3 separate regions of the Homo sapiens genome follow, and all the other regions are linked to region 1. Evidence: promoter capture Hi-C in 16 types of primary human blood cells and fetal thymus (Javierre and others, 2016). All regions are on one chromosome and are shown on one strand. Each heading gives the region's core, a stretch centred on a gene start or on the middle of the fragment in contact. The rest is flanking DNA. Distances are from core to core; before and after follow the strand shown. Region 1 holds the start of UQCRFS1 (ubiquinol-cytochrome c reductase, Rieske iron-sulfur polypeptide 1). Region 2 overlaps DPY19L3 (dpy-19 like C-mannosyltransferase 3). Region 3 holds the start of PDCD5 (programmed cell death 5).

Region 1 (3,675 bases), core at 929-3,428:
CCAACAGTGTAAAAGTGTTCCTATTTCTCCACATCCTCTCCAGCACCTGTTGTTTCCTGACTTTTTAATGACTGCCATTCTAACTGGTGTGAGATGGTATCTCATTGTGGTTTACAGGCAACCTAAAAATTGGGAGAAAATTTTTGCAACCTACTCATCTGACAAAGGGCTAATATCCAGAATCTACAATGAACTCAAACAAATTTACAAGAAAAAAACAAACAACCCCATCAAAAAGTGGGCGAAGGACATGAACAGACACTTCTCAAAAGAAGACATTTATGCAGCCAAAAAACACATGAAAAAATGCTCAGCATCACTGGCCATCAGAGAAATGTAAGCCTCCAATTTTTTGAAGAAACTTTAGCAACACGACGAATTCCAAAGATGCTTTTCTTTTGCTATTGAAATGTTCTCCTTCCTTCCTTCTCACCTCCAGGTCCCAAGGATGGGCTAGGGTACTCTACACCTGCCATGGACAGTTTCTTCAAAACCCACTGATGCTCCTTAACAAATATTCATTCACAAATACTTTGCACTAACTGTATACAAAATCCGACGTTGTGAAAGATAGAAAAATAAAGAAGATATTACCTTCTCTATGCCCTTAAGCCCAAGGGTGGAGGAGTTACCAATAAACACAATACAGAGTGTAAAGTGTATGTGCTACAGAGACAGACAAATCAGCAAATAAAAACTTTATTCACCTGATCCTTAACTGAGATTGAAAAGATGGGTAAGGAAAACATATGGACATGTAGCAACTTAGTGGAAGGACCATGAAGAAAGTGCAGAGCCCAGGGTGAATGAAGACAGAGTAAAAAGAAAAGTGGCGGGCAATTTGGTTAGCGTGTAGGGGAAGAGTCACAAACAGCTATCAGTGGAGCCAGGCTGGTAACAGAATGAAACACGCAGACCTGGTAAAGACTGTGACAAACTGGAGAAGACCACTTGCTCCAACTGCGGGGGCGGCCACTACACAGCACACTATGGAATTTTCCCAAGTAGAAACTAGATCCCAGTATTACCGGCTTCCAGCATTTTAAGAGATGCCATTAGTCTTCCCAGTTTTTTTGAAAACTACACAGCCTGCAGACACACTGCCCACAGGCTGCCATTTCTCTATCTCCGATACAGGGCCAAGTAAAGATGGAAGGCGAGGCAAAGAAGATAAACGGGGATCTAAGGACAGAGGGTGTGGAATAGCCCCTGCGAAGAGCTCAGTGGCTACGACAATTCGTCTTGTCAAATCCCTGCTACCACATGTCCACACCACGGATCCTGGTGCGAGTCATTCTACCTCGTCTGTTTTCTCATCTGTAAAATGTAAATGTCGTCAATCTCTGCCCGTCCTTGACGACTGATTATGTTGTGACACTACACTGTAACTGACCTTGTGTATGTTTTTTTTGTTTTTTTTTTGGTGGGGGGGTGATGAAGGGGAAGGACATGAAGGGATCGGTAGTGGTGAGAAGACCAACTTCCCAAATATTAGTAAGTTTCCATTTCTTAAGCATGTAAGTGCCCAAACTGTGCTAACGGCTTTACGTAGAATTCCTCCACCTAAGCCTCACGACACCCCTACAAAATTGATAAAGATATGAATCCATTTCACAGGAAGTACGTTTAGAAACTCGCCCAAGGTCAAACGACCTGCAAGCAACAAAACCCCTCAGAGGTGGCTGGAACAGCGGGACTACAGAGCTCGTGAACTCGGCCGAGGAGGAACCAGGCGAAGCCGGCGGACGCGAGTCCAGGCCGGCCACCAGAAAGACGCCCCGAGCCCGGGGGCCAGGCCCAGAGTTGCGGAGGCCGCCCAGCCCGACCTGATTCAGGCTCCGCTCGCGCGCCCGCGGCCGCTCCCTGCTGGGGGCCGGAGGAGCGGGCACCGAGAGACCCCCAGCCCTGCTCGCGGCCCTCGCCCCGGCTCACCATTGAGGCCCACGGAGGCGACCAAAGGCCGGCGCACGGCCTGGCCGCTCAGCGACTCCCGGCTGAGGAAGGGCCGCTTCAGGTCCAACACAGGCTGCTCCGGGGTGGCGGGCACCGTGGCCTGCACCAAGGGCCGCAGCGCGCCCGCCACCCCGCGGGACGTGGCCGACAGGACGGGCGCGAACGGGCCTGAGCGGGATGCTACCGACAACATGGCGACAGCCGCTCCAACCGCCAAGCCGGTCACAGGGACGACCTTCCAACCACGGCGCAGGCGCGAGGAGGCGCGGGACGCGTGACGACAGCGCGCCGCCGGAAAGGAAATTCTGCAGTCCTGCAGGGCGGGGCAAACTTGGAGAGGCGCTGCGTCGGGGGACGGGGCTACAAGCCGTCGCTGGGGGCGGGGCTTGCGGCCCACCTGTAGGTCCCGGTGCCACCTCGTCAGTGTCCCGAGAGATCCCCAGAAGAACGAGAGGGCTGAACAGGGGACCCCACTGACGTCCGGTGGGCCGACTTTACGATCCTTTAGGGTAAAAATTTCATCTAGGAAGACCTAGAGATAACAATAAACGATTATAGTTTAACTTAGGATGGTAATATATCTCAACTACGACGAAGTCCAGCACATAGTAATCGCTATGTGTTTACTATGATGATTTTTATTATCTTCATCTAACAACAACAACAACAAAAAGGCCAGAGGCATCTGTGCAAAGCTCGATAATGCTAATGGATTATGTTTATTAAGTATTCACTGTGTATTTGGTTTTGCGTTTTATTATACCTACGTTCTTTCATTTGTTATCAAGGTCTCTATGAAGTCAGAGCTATTACTATCAGCATTTTACCCATGAAGAAACCGAGGTTTAGAGAGATTCTTTTCCAGGAACTGGATAGCCAGCAAGATGTGAAGCAGGGTAATCTGTCTCCTGAGTCTATGCTCTTCAGTGCCACCACTGTTTCCCAAAGTAGGATTTTAGAATTTTAGAGGATGCACAGAGCTCGCTCATTCATGTTCCATCACATAGTGAGAAAGTTTTGTTTTCTTTTGTTTTGTTTTTCAATCCTGATTGCACCAATGAGAAAGTCTCAGTTTGGTGCTAATACATCTTTAATTAAAAAAAAAAAAAAGTAGAGATGAGGTCTCACTATATTGCCCACTCCAGTCTCGAACTTCTGGCCTCAAGGAGTCCTGTCTCCCCCTCCCAAAGTACTGGGATTATAGGCATGAGCAAATTCACTTGGCCTCAGTTTGATCCTAATATATCTTTAATTCCTCTCTACACTTATCTCCCACTTTTAACAGAAAAGATCTTGAGTTAGAAGCTCTTAGCAGAGAACTGAGTCTAGAGTGATTTCATTATATGGTTCATAGTATTGATTTTCTATCCATACTGGTTTTCTATTCTGTACTATACTGAGATAAAGTTTTTCATTTAGGTCAAAAATAATTTAAATATTAAGTAAATGTTAATATAAGCAGTGCACAGAATTGGCTCTGTGCTGTGCATGGGCTCTGTGATCTGGGCAAGTTCCCTCACCTCTCTGTGCCTCAGTTTCCTCACCTGCCAAATGGGGGCAGTAATGATGCCATGTGTGTTGTAAAGTTACTGGGAGGAGTAAATGAACTAAAACGTGTAAAGCATCTACAAGCAGGCCCAGCACACAGGCAGCACCAAGTGAGGATTTGCTAGTGGTGTTTTTATCTGAGATGCCACCTCCTCTAAGAAGCCTTCCCTTGAT
Region 2 (3,803 bases), core at 977-3,476, 3.2 Mb after region 1:
CAGTTATGATTTGACAAAAGATGAAAGAGCTTTGATTAGAAGTGTTTGTCAGCTGTCTGTTCATTAACTTACGGTTCTTCCAATCTCATCCTTTGACTCTCTAGAGTAATGGTCCCCCCACCCACACCCCAGATTTTAGTCTCTCTCTAATTTTTCTGGTCGTGTATACTATTTACACCAGGCAACCTTACCTTGGGTGAGTTTCCATTAAGGTAGTGAAAGGTGGATCAACATTTTTTAAAAATTCTTTATAATTAGTCAAATTCCTGAAGTTTTCTTTTGCTTTTTTTTTTTTTTCTTTTATTGGTGGGAAAAGTAATCAGAACTTGGTCAGTTGTTTGTATAATGGTAAAGACTTGCTAAGTGATGCATCAGATAGCATTAATTACCAACTTCTTGCTTCCTGAGTAGCTTTTGTAACTAAAGCATGGTCAGGATTTTAAAAGTTAACATGAAAATCTTCATACCCATTAACCATTTTGGATATCTGACAGAATTTACATTATTTACAGCCATGTTAATTCTTACCAGCCAGGCTAGTAAAGCAATTCAGGGAAACAGTTTAACAAAAGTAATCTGTAATGGGAGGTCATGACACCTGGCTCAGCCATTAGCGAGTGATTAACACGTTTTGGATAATAGTACTTTCTGAACACCTTAAACAATGCAAAGAAAAAGAAATATACTCCCATCCTGAAACTAACACCAGTGGCACTGTCTTGCTGTCTTAATGTCATATTCTGCACATGTATACCCATAAGCATTCGTATACAGTTTTGCAAAATTGGGATCCACGTGCTGTTTTGTAGCTTGCTATTTTTCTCTTATTATGTTATGAACATGTCATAAGCCAGTTAACGTATTTTTGAAATATCATCTATGTAAAGTATTTTTATAGCTGCCACTGTAGAAGTGAAAGGTTTTCTTACCATTTGCTAATACAGACAGAACTGTGATCAATTTCCTTGTGGCCATATGTTTGTTTAAAACTTTATTTCCTTGGGGCATGTCTTAGTCCATTTCTGTTGCTATAAAGGAATACTTGAGGCTAGGTGATTTATAAAGAAAAGAGGTTTCTTTGCCTCAGGGTTCTGCAGACTGTATGAGAAGCATGGCACCAGCATCTGCCTCTAGTGAGACCTCAGGAAGCTTCCAGTCGTGGCAGAAGACTTAGGGGAGCCAGTGTGTAGAGATCACATGACCAGAGTAGAAGCAATTTCCAGGGAACACAGGATGTCAGGCTCTTTTTTAACCAACCAGCTCCCCTAGGACTAACAGAATGAAAACTCAGTACTGCTAGAATCTCACCAACCTGTTTATAAGGGCTCTGGTTCCATCACCACACCACCTCCCATTAGGCCCCACCTCCAACATTGGGAATCACATTTCATCATGAGATTTGGAGGGGCCGAATAGTCAAACCACAGCAGGGTACATGCCTAGATTGGGAATTACTGGCCAAATGGGATGCTCATTTTGGTGGCTTTTACTCACTGCTGCCATGTTGCATTCCAGAGAGGCACCAATTTATTCTTCTAGCAGCAATGTTTGAAGATGTCTATTTTTTATACCCTTACCAAAACAGTATTAGCATTTTGAAAGCTGTCAAATTGGCCAAGATTTAAGTATAACTCACAGTTTTGATTTGCATTTCTTTAACATTAATGAATTTAAACATCTTCAGTCTGTTATTATTATTGGCCACTTTTTTCTATTGTACATTGCCTGTTCATGTCCTTAATCTTTTTCCTACTGCAGTATTCATCTTGACAGGACAATAAATTGTCCTGAAATAAAATAAATTGTCCTGAAAGTATTCATCTTATGTTAAGGGTATTTAAGCTTTCTTATATGTGCTATCCATATTTTGCCTAGTTTATATGTCCTTTAACTTGAGTTATGTTGGATTATTTATTCTGTGGGTTTTTCCCCCCAGAGCATTCCTGCAAAACCTGTGGGTTTAAAAAAAAAGTTTTAGGTAATCGGCCAGGTGCAGTGGCTCATGCCCGTAATCCCAGCACTTTAGGATCCCAGCTTGGGTGGGTGAATCACTTGAGGTCAGGAGTTCAAGACCAGCCTGGCCAACATGGTGAAACCCTGTATCTACTAAAAATACAAAAATTAGCCAGGCATGGTGGCATGTGCCTGTAGTCCCAGCTACTCAGGAGGCTGAGGTGGGAGAATTGCTTGAACCTAGGAGGCAGAGGTTGCAGTGAACCGAGATTGCACTACTGCATTCCATCTTGGGCAACAGAACAAGATCCTGTCTCAAAAAACAATAATTATTTTTTAGGTAATCAAGTTTTTAAAATAGCTTTTAAAGAATAAGCCACCAATTGTACCTAGATTATCTAAAAGATCGATTACGTCCTAGACACGTAACACATTTAGTCATCCATTTAACAGACTTCATAGTTAAATTACGGTTGTTAAACTGTGCCGGACAGAGGCCCTCAGTATTAAACATGAATAAGATAATGTATTTGTCTTCAAGAAGCTCACGTTGTAGTTGGCAGAATGGACACATGGACAGTTAGATACGGGGTAACAGTTGTAATAGAATGAAAACAGGTCTGTGGAATCAGAAAGGACCCTCCGCTGGAGACAGGAAAAGCTTTCCCAGTGACAGGCAGCTAGACTTAGCTTACTTGATAATCTGAAGTAGAACTATTACATTCTGATTTTTTTACTGACTTAGTTATTTATCTGTTCCATTTTTCCAAAAGGTTGTACCAGTAGAAGATTATGGAAGATTTTGTCATTGACAATTGGTGGAACCATTGCCCTTTGCATTGGACTTCTTACATCTGTCTACCTTGCCACGTTACATGAAAATGATTTATGGTTTTCTAATATTAAGGTATGGAGTTTCTTTGACCATTGTATCATTCACTCAGTGGGATCTCCAGTAGTAAGCCATGTGGATGAATGACCAAGGCAACACAGTTTTGCCATAAAGAATCCAATCTCTAGAAAGGTTGGACTATAGAGTGAAATAACTTTTGTGTTTATTATTTTAAAATAACATATTAGAATCTTTTTTTAAATTTTTCTTTATTATTTATTTATTTTTGAGATGGAGTCTCACTCTGTCACCCAGGCTGGAGTGCGGTGGCGCAATCTTGGCTCACTACAACCTCTGCCTCGCAGGTTCAGGTGATTCTTCTGGCTTAGCCTCCCAAGTAGCTGGGACTATAGGTGCGTGCCACCACACCCAGCTAATTTTTGTATTTTTACTAGAGACGGGGTTTCAGCATATTGACCAGGCTGATCTCGAACTCCTGACCTTGTGATCTGCCTGTCTCAGCCTCCCAAAGTGCTGGGATTACAGGCGTGAGCCACTGCGTCCAGCCAGAATCTTTATTTTTCATTTTAATTTTTTGAGATAGGGTATTGCTCTGTCACCCAGGCTAGAATGCAGTGGTGCAAACATGGGTCACTGCAGCCTCAACCTCCTGGGCTCAAGTGAGTATCCTGCCTAAGCTTCCTGTGTCACTGGGACCCCAGGCATGCACCACCTCACCAAGCTAAATTTGATTTTTTTGTAGAGACAGGGTCTCACTTTGTTGCCCATGCTGGTCTCGAACTCCTGGGCTCAAGCGATCCTACTGCCCTGGTCTTCCAAAATATGAGAATGAGCCATAGCACCCAGCCCAGAATTTTTATAATCAAGTGAGTTTTTTCTTTTTCATTAACTTATTCCATTTATTTAGCAGTTATTCTAAATTAGTATTTTTCAAGTTATAGATTGTGAAATTAGTGCAGTAGGTCATGAGTAACATTTTTCTTAATGAAATCAAAAA
Region 3 (4,101 bases), core at 296-2,795, 3.4 Mb after region 1:
CGCCCCAGCGCAGCCCAAGTCCCTGCACGCAGAGGCGCCGATCACGGGTGGGAGGTGGATCCCGGAGGCCCCGCCCCAGGCCCCGCCCCTCCGTGCGCCCAAGCTCGACCGCCTGAAATCGGGGAATCGGGCCTCTGCCGGCGCCCTGGCAGCGGCGCGGGGCGTGGCTCCGGGCTGGATTGGTGGCGCCTGGGCCCCGCGAGCGCCTGCGCAGTGGTCAAGGCCGCGCTCGCGCCGAGGGGCTGCGAGAGTGACCGCGGCTGCTCCAGCGCTGACGCCGAGCCATGGCGGACGAGGAGCTTGAGGCGCTGAGGAGACAGAGGCTGGCCGAGCTGCAGGCCAAACACGGGGTGAGCGCATCAGCCCCCGCCAGGCTTGGCCCTCGCGGGGCGCCGCCCTCGCCCGGAGTGTAGGGCGCGCCTCCGGGGCGGAGGCTCTGGGCGCCTCCCCGGGGCCCCGGTCCCCTGCGCTGCCCTGGCGGCCTCGTGGCCGGCTCAGAGGTGGCCTCGTCGCTTTCCTCGTCGCGAGGGGCCCAGGAGGCTGGCGGCGGGGGCCGCCACGTGCGGGACCTGCCCTGGCGTTGGGGTGTGGGGTCCCCTAGCCTGGAGCGGGCTCGTCCTGGCGGGCCTGGATCCAAGCACAATCTCAGCTTTTGGAGCCAGCAGCCGGACCGAATTCAGTTTTTCCGGAGTTCAGTTGTTATGACCCAAGTTTAGCCGACAGGTATTGAGGGTCCGCTGTGTTCCCGGTGCTGAGAGCGCGGCAGGGTCGGAGGAACGCTTGCCCCGCCGGGATGACAGGGAGGGGCCGCCTGGGAAGCTTGGATGGATCACACGCCCGGAGAGGCGTTTCTGATAAGGGACCGGGACCTTAGGGACGGAGGGCGCAGTCTTTGAGTTATCGTTGTCCCTAATACCGAGGCCCGTTTTATTTTCCAGAAATTATTCCTACATGTGAAACACGGTTTCGTAATACAGGGATTCCCCTCCCCAGGGTGCTCTGTATTCCAAAGCCTTCTGAGGTTGTGGTTTTAGACGTTCATCAAAACGTTGTAAGTGGGAACTAGTTCATTGATTTCTGTGAGGCCCAGTTTCTTATTTGGGGAGTTGTTTCTACCACCGCAAGAGACTGTTATGTATAGGAAACAACAGAACCGTTCCTTTTTCCCGCCGCCTCCCGTGAAATTTCTCTATTAAATTTAAGTTTTTTTTTTCCAGGATCCTGGTGATGCGGCCCAACAGGAAGCAAAGCACAGGTATGGGCTGGAAACGTGAACTTTTTGAAGGGTGGTTTCACCAAATGGATTTCTTTTGCTGTAGTTATTTTAAGCAGGTGTGTGACTCAGATTTTTTTGTTTTGCTGGAATGGTGATTTGGCCAAAATCATCCGCAGGGTATCTTCATTATTGTTAAATAAACACGTGTGCAGCTCCACATCAGACCTTGTATTGCAATTACTGGTTGATGTTTCTCTGCTACAATGTGAGTACCTTAAAAATGAGCCTGATAATAGGCAGCTGTGGCAGTTTCCTCGGCTGTGGGGGTGACGTGAGTCCGGTGCCTCACTTAGTAAGTGCTCAATAAGTGTTAACTGGTAAGCTATTCTGATTGTTTTATCCCAACACAGCGCACAGCACCTGAGACAGATGCAGGTAATTGATTCGGTGGCAGGTTTATTGAATGAGTATGTGATTACCCTATCATGCTATCATTTTTTAAAAATTGTGGTTAAATAAAATTTCACCATCACAACCATTTTTAAGTGTGCTCTTCAGTAGTGTTCACACTCTAGAATGTTTTCATCTTGCAAGACTGAAACCTTTAGCTACTGGACAATTCTCTATTTCCCCTTCCTCACCTTCTTACTCCTCCTCTCCAGCAAATATTTATAGAGCACCTGCTCTGGGTCAGGCACTGTGCTGGGTCTACAGAAATAGGAAGGGAGGGTTCGGGAGAAGACAGACGGTGAGAAGTATCTGGAGTAGTGATAGGAAGTAAAACGACGCAAATTTCATTGATTTCTGCCGTGTACATCTTTTCATTGTCACATATCTGAAATCAGGATGCCTTTTAAAACAGATTGCTCTTGCCCCAGATTCTTCCAGAGGGGATTTACTTTTGACTCTGCTATCACTTGAGTACATTTCTGAGACCATTGAAAGTTAAATTCTCTGCTTGAGGTTTTCCCCTGCCTCCTGCCTAGTAGTGTGAATTCAGACAGCAACCCTGTAAGACTGAACTTTTTTCTTCTTTACGTCAGGGCCAGGTGCATGCAAGCTTTTGTACTGCCCCTTACTGCATGGCATATTTATTTATTCTTTACTTTGTACTGAGAATGTTGCTCTTTGATACCCCAGTGGTGGGATCAGAACTCACTGCAGCCTCAAACTCCTGCTGGGCTCAAGTGATCCTCCCACCTCAGCCTCCTGAGGAGCTGAGATGACAGGCGTGCACCACCATGCCTGGCTAATTTTTTTAAACTTTTTTTTTTTTTAATAGCCTCGCTATATCACCCAGGCTGGTCTCAAACTCCTGGCTTCAAGTGATCCTCCCACCTTGGCCTCCCGAGAAACCCCAGTTTTGAATGGAGATCTCTATTAGACCTCTCATTTTAGGGTTTTTCATTTTTAGAGATACGTAAAACTATGGTGTATCTTAGAATTGATGGCATCTTAGGGTTCTGTGATATAATAGTTTGTGGCAGGCCAGGTGTGGTGACTGAAGCCTGTAGACCCAGCTACTCAGGAGGCCGAGGGGGAAGAATCACTTGAGCACAGGAGCTTGAGCTGATCATAGCTGCAGTGAGCTGTGATTGCACCACTGTACTCCAGCATGAACAGCAGAGTGAGACCCCATCTTTTTTTATTGTTGTTGAGATGAAGTCTCACTCCATCACCCAGGCTGGAGTGCAGTGGCACAATCTTGGCTCACCGTAACCTCTGCCTCTGAGCTTCAAGCGATTCTCCTGCCTCTGCCTCCCAAGTAGCTGGGATTACAGGCACCCGCCACCATGCCCGGCTAATTTTTGTATTTTTAGTAGAGATGGGGTTTCACCATGTTGGCCAGGCTGGTCTCAAACTCCTGACCTCAAGTGATCCACCCACCTCAGCCTCCCAAAGTGCTGAGATTACAGGCATGAGCCACCATGCCTGGCCTAGACCCCATCTCTTAAAGTTTGTGGCAGGGCTGCAGTACTCAAACCATAAAGAAGTGGCCTATGGAAATGAGCTTTAAGCCACATTCCATGAACCGAAGGGCCTCTGAGCTGGGAGTGGATAGTGGGCACAGCCAGCCCCAGCTCTCCCTCTCAGTTGAGCCAAAGCATCTGTGCTCATTTGTTTTTAGATTTCTTAAAGGATTTCATTTGAAAGAAAAAAGAAACAAGTCCATGAGACCACTGTCCTGTGAACGTGAACTACTTTCTATTTGGGTAGGTAGGAAGAAGTGAGGATAGTTGCAAAGTTATAATTTCATTCCCCTTCCCCACCCAGAAAAATAGAACTGAGAGTCTTAAAACATGGAATCTGGCTGTAGCTTGGCCACAGTTACCTATGTCTCTTTAGCATAGCCTCCTGGATCTCAGCTTTATCTCTAAGAAAATGATATAGATTAGTCACATGGTCCTTCTAATTGCCTGAAATCCCACTATAAATTTCTAGCACCTGTCACGCAATAGGTACTTAAGAAATGTTGGTGATGGTGTTTGAACTGAGGCTCCACTCTGATGAAACTGTAAAGCTCACCTTCCAGCCTGGTAGGTTGTCACCTGTGTAATATAAAGCTGGTTCTTTGAGGGCAAAAGGGGATTCTACTTGAATGTAGCTGCAGCCTTATGTACAGCAACTACCATAATGCAGTTTGTATACCGCAGGCCCCATGTGGAGACACATACTGGATGGGTTCTTTCTCGTATGTTACATGGGAATGCCGACAGCTGTGTTTTAATTGTGTTTGACCTATGTTTTCGTTGTAGGGAAGCAGAAATGAGAAACAGTATCTTAGCCCAAGTTCTGGATCAGTCGGCCCGGGCCAGGTGTAAGCATCTTTGATTTCATTTCCATAAAGTTAGCTTGAGTTAGTTGAATGGGGTGATTAGATACCA

What was found. The method cuts DNA at HindIII sites, captures the fragments that hold promoters and counts their contacts. A CHiCAGO score of 5 or more calls a contact.
Region 2: a fragment that was not itself captured here is called in contact with the fragment with the promoter of UQCRFS1 in region 1 in 1 of 17 cell types (naive CD8 T cells); the score reaches 6.6 in naive CD8 T cells.
Region 3: a contact is called between a fragment that was not itself captured here and the fragment with the promoter of UQCRFS1 in region 1, in 1 of 17 cell types (naive CD8 T cells). The highest score is 5.2, in naive CD8 T cells.

What each region holds. Positions count from the first base shown.
Region 1 is chr19:29,210,973-29,214,647 of GRCh38, forward strand. UQCRFS1 (ubiquinol-cytochrome c reductase, Rieske iron-sulfur polypeptide 1) reads right to left here and starts at 2,179. Exons shown (of 2, transcript NM_006003.3): 1 at 1,933-2,179. The coding sequence starts at 2,146. It overlaps UQCRFS1-DT (UQCRFS1 divergent transcript), which reads left to right and starts at 2,281. Exons shown (of 2, transcript NR_184022.1): 1 at 2,281-2,436. RefSeq lists a silencer at 1,773-2,082 and an enhancer at 2,123-2,362. The HindIII fragment of the contact is 13,970 bases long and covers 1-3,675 here.
Region 2 is chr19:32,408,513-32,412,315 of GRCh38, forward strand. DPY19L3 (dpy-19 like C-mannosyltransferase 3) reads left to right here. Exons shown (of 19, transcript NM_001172774.2): 3 at 2,727-2,860. Among named protein-coding and RNA genes, the nearest start is that of DPY19L3, 4.6 kb to the left of the region's middle. The HindIII fragment of the contact is 772 bases long and covers 1,841-2,612 here.
Region 3 is chr19:32,580,978-32,585,078 of GRCh38, forward strand. It overlaps PDCD5 (programmed cell death 5), which reads left to right and starts at 213. Exons shown (of 6, transcript NM_004708.4): 1 at 213-350; 2 at 1,218-1,255; 3 at 3,973-4,034. The coding sequence starts at 285. RefSeq lists silencers at 1-692, 38-214. The HindIII fragment of the contact is 1,457 bases long and covers 818-2,274 here.